2 separate regions of the Homo sapiens genome follow, and region 2 is linked to region 1. Evidence: promoter capture Hi-C in 16 types of primary human blood cells and fetal thymus (Javierre and others, 2016). All regions are on one chromosome and are shown on one strand. The core of a region is centred on a gene start or on the middle of the fragment in contact, and the rest is flanking DNA. Distances in the headings are between cores, read along the strand shown. Region 1 holds the start of ZRANB2 (zinc finger RANBP2-type containing 2). Region 2 overlaps DEPDC1 (DEP domain containing 1).

Region 1 (5,682 bases), core at 2,900-5,399:
GTGAAAAATACTAAATTAGTAGGCTATAATATAGATGAATATCAAATTTTTAGATATTTTACAATTTTAAAATAAAAACTAGGATGAAACCACTGTCAAAGAAATGTTTATTAAGTGGTAATGTAAACAAAGAAAATGTACAGTGGCCTGAAGAGTAAATGTGGGTTCCAACAACGGACTGAACCATTTAAGCAGAGAAGCAAAATTTATATAGTATGAAAAGTGCCTCTGTCATTTTGAGAAGTAAATGACAAATTATAACCACAGGTCGAGTATCACTAATCCACAAATCCAAAATCCAAAAACGTTCCAAAATCTAAAACTTTTTGAGAGAGGACATGACACTCAACAGAAACGCTCACAGGAGCATTTCAGATTTTCAGATTAGGGATGCTGAACCCACAAACATTTCAGGTAAGTGATACTGAACCTGTATAGAAATTCTGATGTCTTATGAAAAAATATAACTTTAAATTAACAGCTCCACTAATTTCTCAGTCTCTGAATATACCTTAAAGAGTATGGTTATACCCTATAAATAATATTAATTTATTTTTTTGAGGTCTCAGTTCAAGCACTGAATTCCAAAGCATACCAAATCCAGTGACCAAATCTGTAGCTGGAAACTTTTCCAATACAAATTTATAATCCTGAGGATCAGAAATTTATTTAAGACTCTAGGGTCAGGAATAGTGGCCCATGCCTCGCCTGTAATCCCAGCACTTTGGGAGGCCAAGGCAGGCAGAATGCTTGAGCTCAGGTGTTCGAGGCCATCCTGGGCAACATGGTAAAACCCTGTCTCTACCAAAAATATAAAAAAATGAGCCAGGCATGGTGGCATGGGCCTGTGGTCCCAGTTACTAAGGAGGCTGAAGTGAGAGGATTGCTTGAGCCTGGGAGGTAGAGGTTACAGTGAACTGAGATCGCCCCACTGCACTCCAGCCTGGGTGACTGAGTGGGACCTCATCTCAAAAACAAAAAATACAAACAAACAAAAAGAGAAATTTATTTAATACTTTTTTGATTTAGACCTCTTTCATACACATAGGATTCATCTGCATAGAGAAAAGATGGAAGTTGGAAAAATCAATGAAGAATTAAATCTAAGCCTGAAAATAAAAATCATTAAGAAACCTACCTATAATTAGACTTAATTACTTACGGCACACAACTTATGAATCTAACATTATTTTGTAAACAGGCAAAATGAGTTTTGTGGTGTATTTCACACTAACTATACAGTCTAAAAATTGGGATTTTTCAATAAAGGAAGTAATAGGCCTTAGTACTTTTAAGTACCACCACCCCCCGATTGGTTTTGAGCTTACCATAAGCATTTGTTTACTGGTATACATAATCCATCATAGTGACAACTATTACCATTAAAAAATGCAAAGAATAATTTAAAACTTCTTTATACTATACTTAAAGATGAGACTGAATAACAATACCTTGGATTTAAAAGGTTACCCTGGCTTGTCAATGTCACTAATAAGAGCTGTAATATAAACAAGTAGTGGCCAGATCTATTATTTTGGAAGAAAGAGCAGACAATAATTTAAAAAACATACGTTTTACATTGCCAGTCATTAGCACTAAATAGGCCTCGGCTCTTTTCTGCAAGTGTCTTTCCTATTTCAGTGCCCCCAGCTTTCATCATCTTGGCCTCAGTTGTTTTCTCTGAAAACAGAAAAATCATGCAATATGAACCTGGAGAAATAAATAAATGATACATATACAGTATAAATAGAATCTTCTTTAAATACTTACCCCGACCACATCGATTACAGCTGGTTCTTCTAGCAAAGTTTACATTTCCACATCTAAAAACAGATTAAAAAGCATTTATAAAAATTTAAATTTGTAAAATTTTACATTTTAACTTGTCCTCACTACATATCTGGAATTCATAACTTCTAATCCATCTTAGTCATGTTAATGTCAATGTTACCAACAAAAAACTCCACACAATTTACTGGGGGAAAAATACTTGATTGGAGCCACAAATTCAGAATAAGATATCCCAATCCTCCATTTACCAGTCATGTGATCTTGATTAAGTTACTTAGGATCTCTGCCTCAAGTCCTCACATTAGCACATATCATTAGTTATAATCCCTTTACAAAGTTGAAAGTGAGAGTTAACTCCACTTCACTAATTACTTACAAGCTACCAGGGAGTTTTAAACCCTAGCGGTGGACCAATGAGGAAAAAAACTTATAAATCAAGGAGGGCTTCATGGATCTTAATGAAATTATCTTTTTACATGCAGTAGGTAGGATGCTAAGGAACCAAATATGATAGGTTGTACTGACTAAAAATACAAAAAGATTCAATAATTGTAAGAAAACTGAGTTTTACAGGGCATTTCTCAAACCTCTGAGACTTCGCTGAAAAAAATGACACAACCACCAAAACCAATAATCTCAACACATGTAGTACAGTAAGACTTTATGCTTATACTCAACAAACTCAAACCTAAAGAATTACTGGTTCACTCACATGACCTTAGAAGTGTACGTGTATATTGGTAAAAGTATGTTAAATGCTCTGGATAACATGGAATGCTTAAACTTTAAAAAGCTGATTTTTAAGGCATTATACTAGAATACAATACAGATGTGAAGTATGGGATGACACTAAAGTGAAACACTCTAAATAATATTTAGGTTAAGTTTTTCCCCTAAAAATATTCCTTTTAACTCCATTAAGCATGGAAAATATACTCTGAAAATTTATCCTGCATTTAAACATATTGTACAAACAACATTCTATTCATATATTTGTAAATGAGTTGAAATGAACTCTCATTGAGAGTCCTACCTCTGGGTGTGCTGTCATTAAAGACACTGACAAAAGCACATTATTTTACAGGTAACAACAAAGTCAGAAGTTGTTGTTCTAAATCTTTTGAACGTTTTCAATAATGTCTTACCACTCAGAGCAATACTATCCATAACATATAACTTTGGTTCTATTCAGTATCATTTGTTAGGCTTGAACTACTCCTTCAGGTCATCTTAATATCAAATTACTATCAATAGCCACCAATTAGAATTTGCTACACGTCACTGTTTACACACCCTATCCATGTTATTTCATGTTTTCATTAAAAAAAAAATTCTATTCCTTTTTTAGCAGTTAAATAAGTAATAGAATTTTAACTAAACCCAGGTTTATTTCAAAGTTTTTGCTTTTTACAATCAAAACCTATTTGTGGCTAACTTAGGTACAACAAATAAAAGGCTTTTATGTGAACATGAGTTGTACATTAAATTATTTTCCATGTTATTTCCGAATAGATACACCTATTTGTGCACCCTTCAAAAAAAATCTGATTAACTATCTAGTCGAGTACTGGCTTTGGCAACAATGTCAAAAAGCAGAGCCACTAACACACGTGCTTCTCTGCTGCAGGCATCTTAAGGGCTGAGTAGGCAAAAACACAGGCCTCTTCCCTCCTTTTCGGCTCTAAGGAGGCGAAAAGCCCAATTCTTGTGGAGAAATGATCCACAAAGAAAATGTCAGAATTTCCCAAACCGAAGAGGGTAGAGCTTCCGGAAAAGGGGAAAATAGTATGGAGGAAAAGTTTGAGTAAAAATACAAAACAAGGTGAACTATAAGAGGCAAAAGGACGAGTGCGAGAAAGCAATATTTTCCGTGAACAAGAGTAAAGTTCTGCAGAGAAAAGTCACGTGGGGGAGATCCAACACCAAGCTGGCCTGACTGGAGAGGTTTCCTATCGCTAAAACCTGGCCGGGGCGGGGGAGGGGGGTGGGGGCAAAAAGGTAGGCCATCTCGCACTCTAAAAAGAGAGGCTACCTTGCGGAGGTAATGTCGAGGAAACGCTGAAGACATATCTAGAACAAAGGCTCCCGGAAAGACCTCTCTCGTGAGGAGATTGGGAGCCTTCTTCCCGCCAGGGAACTGGCGGTTCGCCGCCTCAACCCGTCTTAAGGCACAGAAAATCATAAAAAAGGAAAATGCCGGACGGACCTCGGAAAGCTTCCACTAACAAACTCCGTCCCAATTCAGGACCCTTCTTGAACTCACTTTTTGTCAGGGCAAATCCAGTCCCCGTCACTGACTCGGAAATTCTTGGTCGACATCTTGAACGCCACCAGCACAGCCACCCGCAGCTATGTCTTCACAGGAGGAAAACGGGCCGGGGACTTTCGGCAACTCGGGGCTGTCCCCACACTGCCTGACTCGCGCCTACTACTGTGTCAGGGTTTGATAATGAGGGAACTAGCCAGGAATTCAGCTTGTACGTTGTTGTCCAGACTAAGATGCCTGTGCTACTGTTTGTTAGATGGAAAAGTTAAAATACAAATATCTTTTCTAGAACTAAACTCACAGGCGCCATAAGGACAACCCAGGCAGGAGGCCTTCGTGGCACTAGAAGCCTCGGAGAGCCCCCTACAGGTGGGAGGACCCAAGAGTAAAGTACTTCCGCTTCCTTAGGTGGAGCTGGAAAGGTGGAGGCGGAAGTGACTGATCAATTCAGGGGCGTGGGGTTCGTTTAGGGTAAGAGGCGGCTCGGGCTCTTCAAGTGTTTAGAGAAATTATTTTAATAAGGCATAAAAATTCTGTTATTTCATACACATGGGATGTCGTTTGGAAACCTATTTTTATATATACATAAATAGGTGTAACAGATAAGTAAGCAACTTATACATGGGAACCAGCTGGTAATTTTAAAACTGAGACATTGTCAACACTGTTTAAATTACCAGTGTCTTTTCTGATACCATCCCATTACTTTCTTCCACAGATAACACTTTCCCATATTTGGGATTTATTCTTTTGCTTTTTAAAAATTTATGTACGTTGTTAGTCCAAACTGCACCATTTTTGTAAGCCCCCCTGCCATTTTGCAGACCTTAGTCAAAGTGAAACATTCCACGGGGTTCGGGCGTGAGAAACAGGCTGCCTCTTATACTCTGCTGGGAGAAAGTACCACATTCCACTGGAACAAGGGCCAGAGCCGCCTCGTCCTGGGAACACCTTATCAACATGTTCCCAGGAAGCAGGCCATGGCCCCCCAGACCACTCCCACCCAGGCCTATAAATCACCCCAGCCTGTAAGAAGCAACGGGCACTGGCATTAAGCTGGTCTCCCACCTCTGTAGGTCTTATGCTGGACATAAATCCTGTATTTGTTGTTAAGCCACCCTCTCTTTCTTTAATCCTTGCCTTCCCTTCAAAACCTAACATACATGTATGTTTAATTTTATGAGCTGTGTAAGCATAGTTGATTCTGTACTCTTTTTTTGTTCATTATGCTTCTAAATTAATCCTAGGTAGTTGCATGTAGAAGTGTATAGGTGTAATTCTTTTATTTGCACTGATGTATACTGATACTATTCCGTTTTGTGGTTTTGTGACAGTTTATTCCTTCTGTTTCTCAGGCTTGGTATTACAAACAACACCAGTATGAGCATTCTTATGCATAGATTCTGGTATATAAATGCATTAATTTTTTTTAGAATACAGCATATACAGTCATGCCTCACTTAATGATAGGGATATGTTCTGAGAAATGCCACTTTCGGCAATTGTGCTGTTGTGTGAACATCATAGAATGTGCTTACACAGGCCTAGCAGGTATAGCCTACTACACACCTAGGCTATATGGTATAGCCTATTGCTCCTAGACTACAAACCTGCATTTAGTACAT
Region 2 (5,627 bases), core at 2,944-5,443, 2.6 Mb before region 1:
CTTCATAAATAGATTATACATATGAATATGACTAGTAAACAAAGCCATCAGAATATTTTATTTTTTTAACCAAATTTCTAAGACTTATATTTAGTATCCCCTTTCAAATACATTTATCTCAATAATCTTAAAAGGATTCCAATATATATCCCAAACTATGGCCATAATGTTGATTCAAAGAAAAGGTGAATCATACCGAAACATTCAATTTCTACTCTACTAGAGCTATAACAAGAGTATTTATTTAAAAACACATATACAGGTTGCATTCTAAGCTTTCAGAATTAATCTGTTCTGATTCATTTGCATATTTTGATGAAAATGTCAAATTAATAATCAGAACACATCAGGAACTTCATTAAAGCTTAATTTTATCTTACTAGATCAGAATAACATATCTCCAAACTTCTTCAACATCTTCCTGGCTTAGTTCTCTATTATCAATTGCATTTTCTTGATCTTCATTGATTATTTCATGCTTTATTTTCTCGCCATTTTCCTGAAAAAAGGATTATTTTGGTTTAATCTGTTATGCTCAAATTTTTTAAATATTGAAAGCAACAATAATTCTATTACTATCAGTCCATTGTGGAGCTATAAAGTATCTCCCAAAGAAATAATGTAATATGGTAATGGAGTTTTTAATTTTGCAGTTGTCCCTACCACCCTCAAATCAATTTAAACCAAAACACACTTAAATTATATAACTGTTGTTTTCAATTATGTCTCACTATCATTTTTATTATTCTTTCTATGGGTTACAAACAATTTTATATATACATATTTAGAATGTAATGTAGGTTAGGAGGTTTCAGTTCTGGCTTTAAATATTAAAGAATAATTTACTTTTAATGATTCTATCATTGAGTACATCATAATTATATTTAAACTAGTAATTAGTAAAAGGATGTGTTACCTGAGATAAATGTAATCCATGCCTTTTAGGAGTTCTACGAGATAAGTTTCGTAATTTAAAAATGCTATCTTTATCTTTGGAAAAGTTCTCTATGTTGTTTTTTCTCAATTCTGGATACCTTCGTGGTAGAGTTTTAAGTGGCGAAGTTGCAGGAAATCTGGTTTAAAAACAATAAGCAATTAAATAATGTGAGATTAGAAACAAACTTTTAGAGCCTATTTTTTTTTTAAAATTCACATAAAGAGCCTGACTTATTAATACTACCAAGTAATAAAGATTCTAGACAAATAAATTTTCCCATTAAACCTTTAAAAAAAATAGGTTCCTTTTTTCTTTAGTATATTGTGTATATTTTAACTTTATTTCTGGATAATTCAGGGTTATTATTAGGGTCAATTCTGGTAGAGGGGTATTGCTTACACACAAAATGGCTCTAGAATGCTACATTTTCTAAATTTCTTTGATGAGTTATCTAGTTTGTATATTCCCTCTTTTGTTTGTGTTTGTCCTCATTTCTGGAACTTAGTTTCTATTGCTTCTTTTGATTGTAATGTTTTGGCCTCCTTTTATTTTAATATAAAATACTTCAAAGATATAATAAAACAATACCCATGTATGTAACTGGCAACCAATGTAATTGTTGACATTTTGCCAGACTTCTCCTTTAATTTTTTTAAACTTTTATTTTAAGTTCAGGGGTGCATGTGCAGGTTTCTTACATAAGTAAACTTGTGTTGTGGAGGTTTGTTGTACGGATTATTTCATCACCCAAGTATTTAGTACCCATTAGTCATTTTTCCTGAACCTCTCCCTCCTCACACCTTCCATTGTCCAATAGGCCCCAGTGTCTATTGTTCCCCTCTATGTGTCCATGTGTTCTCATCAGTTAGCTCCCACTTGTAAGTGAGAGCATGTGATATTCAGTTTTCTGTTCCTTAGTTTGCCTCCACCTCCATCTATGTTCCTGCAAAGTACATGAACTCATTCTTTTTTATGGCTGCATACTATTCCATGGTGTATATGTACACATTTTCTTCATCCAGTATACCACTGAGGGACATTCAGGTTGACTCATTGTCTTTGCTATTGTGAATACTGCTGCAATGAACATACGTGTACATGTGTCTTCATGACAGAATGATTTATATTCCTTAGGGTATATACCTAGTAAAGGGATTGTTAGGTTAAATGGTAGTTTTGGTTTTAGGATTTTAATGAATCATTATACTGTTGTCCACAACTCATATGGAACCAAAAAGAGCCCAAATAGCCAAGGCTATCCTAAGAAAAAAGAACAAAGCTGGAGGCATCATGCTACCAGAATTCAAACTATACTACAGGCCTGTAGTAACCAAAACAAAATGGTACTGGTATAAAAACCAACACATAGACTAATGAAACAGAATACAGAGCCCAGAAATAAGGCCATGCACCTACAACCAACTGATCTTCAGCAAAGCTGACAAAAACAAGCAATGGGGGAAATGATTTCCTATTTAACAAATAGTGCTGGGATAACTGGTAAGTTACATGCCGAAGATTGAAATGGGACACCTTCTTACACCATATACAAAAATTAACTCAACATGGATTAAAGAGTTAAGTGTAAAACCCAAAACTATAAAAAACCTGGAAGAAAACCTAGGCAATATCATTCTGGACATTAGAATGGGCAAAGATTTCATGATGAAGATGCTAAAAGCAGTTGCAACAAAAGCAAAAATTGACAAATGGACTGTAGTTACATGAAGGAGCTACACAGCAAAAGAAAACTATCAATGGAGTCAACAGACAACCTATCGAATGGGAGAAAATTTTTGCAAACTATGAATCTGACAAAGGTCTAGTATCCAGCATTTACAAGGAACTTAAATTTAAAAGCAACTCCATTAAAAAGGGGGCAAAGGACATGAACTGACACTTTTCAAAAGAAGACATATATGCAGCCAACAAGCATATGAAAAAAGTTCAATATTACTGATTGGAGAAATGTAAATCAAAACTATAATGAGATACCATCTCACACCAGTCAGAATGGACACTATTAAAAAACAAAAAAATAACAGGTGCTGGCAAGGTTGCGGAGAAAATGGAATGTTTATACACTGTTGGTGGGAGTGTAAATAACTCCTTTTTTAAAAAAAATGAAATTCTTTGCTCATTCATATCTCCCTCTAAGGGAGAGTAAAATATAAACTTACAGTTTCATAAAATAAACCTATAGTTGTATTTCTTTTCCATGCTTTTATACTTTTAATAAATGTATATAAACAATATGTGGTTTGGTGTTTTTTCACTTTATCATATCTTTTACCATATATCAATTTTTTTTTCTTCTCCAAGTTTTACTCTGTCACCCAGGATGGAGTGCAGTAGTGTGATCACGGCTGACTACAGTCTCAACCTCCCGGGCTCGGCCTCCCAAGTAGATGAGACCACAGGCATATGCCACCATGCCTGGCTAATTAATTTTTTTTTTTTTTTTTGTAGAGACAGGGTCTCCCTATGTTATCCAGACTGGTCTCGAACTCCTGGGTTCAAGTGATCCTCCTGTCTTGGCCTCCAAAAGTGCTGGGATTACAGGTGTGAGCCACTCTGCCTGGCCCCATACATCAAATTTATTCAAAAAGTTTGTAGTGACCTCAAAAGTTTGAACACCTCAGAAGTTTGACCTTGGTCTTCAAAATTCTCTTAGACTTTTACCAAATGAATTTTAGAATCTGCTTATCAAGTTCCACAAAGAAACTATATTGAAGTTTTGAATGAAAATGCACTGAATTTCTATTTCAATTTGGGAGGAATTGACTTGTATATACATGTACTAAGTATTTTCATTCATGAACAGGGTATCTTTCTCCATTTATTCTATTTAATACAATTTAATACTTTTCTCCAATAAGGTCTTACACATTTTTGGTAAACTTTATTTTTATGTACTTTATAGTTTTGTTACGATCGTAAAAGACTAGGAGAGGCCGGGCGTGGTGGCTCATGCCTGTAATCCCAGCACTTTGGAAGGTCAAGGTGGGTGGATCCCTTGAGCTCAGGAGTTTGAGACCAGCCTGGGCAACATAGTGAAACCCCGTGTCCACAAAAAATTCAAAAATTAGCTGGGCGTGGTGGTGTGTGCCTGTAGTCCCCACTACTTTGGAGGCTGAGGTGGGAGGATAGCTTGAACCCAGGAGGCAGAAAAGACTAGGGGCAGAGAGACTAGTTGAGGATTTATGCAGAAATCCAGGTAAAACAAAAGCAAAACAAATAAAGAGAAATCCAGGTAAGAATTATAGCCTAACAAAAAGAAGATTCATCTTGGAGAGAGATGTGTACAGATCAGAGAACTACTTAGGGAGCACAATAGACTAAATCATATTTAAAGGACAAGAAAGGGAAAGAATCAAGGCAACTATAGGGAAGGCAATGCAATTTATTCAGATAGGAAACCTAAGAAGACAAAACTTAGGTTAGAGGGTGATAGTCATTTTTCTATATGGTTTATTTGAAGTGCCTTTCCAGGAGGCAGATGAAAAAACATGGGCCGAAAGCTCAGGAAAGATATTTCAGGAGAGGCCTGAAAGTCTTAAGAAAAGTAGGCGAAGACATGGCATGAGATTGCCTAGGGAGAAGGTGAAGTAAGGACAAGGGCAGGAACTTGAAGATGGGAGAGTTAAAGGATGAGCAGCAGTAAAGGAGCCCACAAAGATAACTGGGGAGTAGTTAAGAGAGGGAAGATTTGTAGAGTGCTATACAAAATGGATTATTCATATGATTGTTATTGTAGTTTACTTGTATGACATAAATCATTTTTGGTACATAGGAAACAATAAATTCTTAGACATTTCATTTGAAAAGTACCTAATGTTGTAGGAAAAAAAAAGCATGGGCATTAGATTCCACAGGCCTAGTTTAATGGATACATAACAAAGAACCGTAGGTCATAAGAGAAAAAGCAATTATGCTGACCTGTGGGAATCAGAAAAGCTCCACAGAAGAGGCTATAAAGGAGCTGAGATTAAAAGAAATGTATAAGTTTACTAGCCTGACAAATGTGTACAGTGTCTCACGGTGGAAAAACATTTCAGGCAGACAGAACAAGATTTGTTGAAGCATGGTCTCAGTTTCCCCATCTGTTAAAAGGGGTTAATACCTACCCTGCTTGGCTACTATAGCAATTAAGTAAGAACACATATGTAAATCATCAAACAGAGTTTCTGTTATATCTTAACTGCTTAATAAATATTCTCTTTAACCTGTGGTATATTTCTTCTGTTATCATTGTTATTTTTTGAGATAGTCTTGCTCTGTCGCCCAAGCTGGAGTGCAGTGGTGCAATCTCAGCTCACTGCAACCTCCACCTCCCAGGCTCAAGCAGTTCTCGTGCCTCAGTCTCAGGTGTGTGCTACTACACCCAACTCATTTTTTGTATTTTTAGTAGAGACGGGGTTTCACCATGTTAGCCAGGCTGGTCTCAAACTCCTAGCTTCAAGTTGATCCGCCCACCTCAGCCTCCCAAAGTGCTGGGATTACAGGCATGAGCCACTTTACCTGGTCCTGTTATTTGTCTGTTATTTATTATGTAAGATTTGCTATTATCCTATTACATGTATTCTTAAATTAAATTATATGTTTGAAGGGAAGGATCTGTGAACTTATAATCTAGAAACTATGCAACTAAAGGTCAGTAATATGTCCTTAAAATGTTATAAAGTGTTCA

Evidence for each region. The method cuts DNA at HindIII sites, captures the fragments that hold promoters and counts their contacts. A CHiCAGO score of 5 or more calls a contact.
Region 2: a fragment that was not itself captured here is called in contact with the fragment with the promoter of ZRANB2 in region 1 in 1 of 17 cell types (total CD4 T cells); the score reaches 5.2 in total CD4 T cells.

The regions. Positions count from the first base shown.
Region 1 is chr1:71,076,886-71,082,567 of GRCh38, forward strand. ZRANB2 (zinc finger RANBP2-type containing 2) reads right to left here and starts at 4,150. Exons shown (of 10, transcript NM_203350.3): 1 at 4,055-4,150; 2 at 1,771-1,823; 3 at 1,572-1,680. The coding sequence starts at 4,110. It overlaps ZRANB2-DT (ZRANB2 divergent transcript), which reads left to right and starts at 4,439. Exons shown (of 4, transcript NR_046217.1): 1 at 4,439-4,528. RefSeq lists an enhancer at 4,100-4,389. The HindIII fragment of the contact is 3,322 bases long and covers 4,005-5,682 here.
Region 2 is chr1:68,488,536-68,494,162 of GRCh38, forward strand. DEPDC1 (DEP domain containing 1) reads right to left here. Exons shown (of 12, transcript NM_001114120.3): 3 at 917-1,073; 4 at 381-499. Among named protein-coding and RNA genes, the nearest start is that of DEPDC1-AS1, 5.3 kb to the right of the region's middle. The HindIII fragment of the contact is 7,663 bases long and covers 363-5,627 here.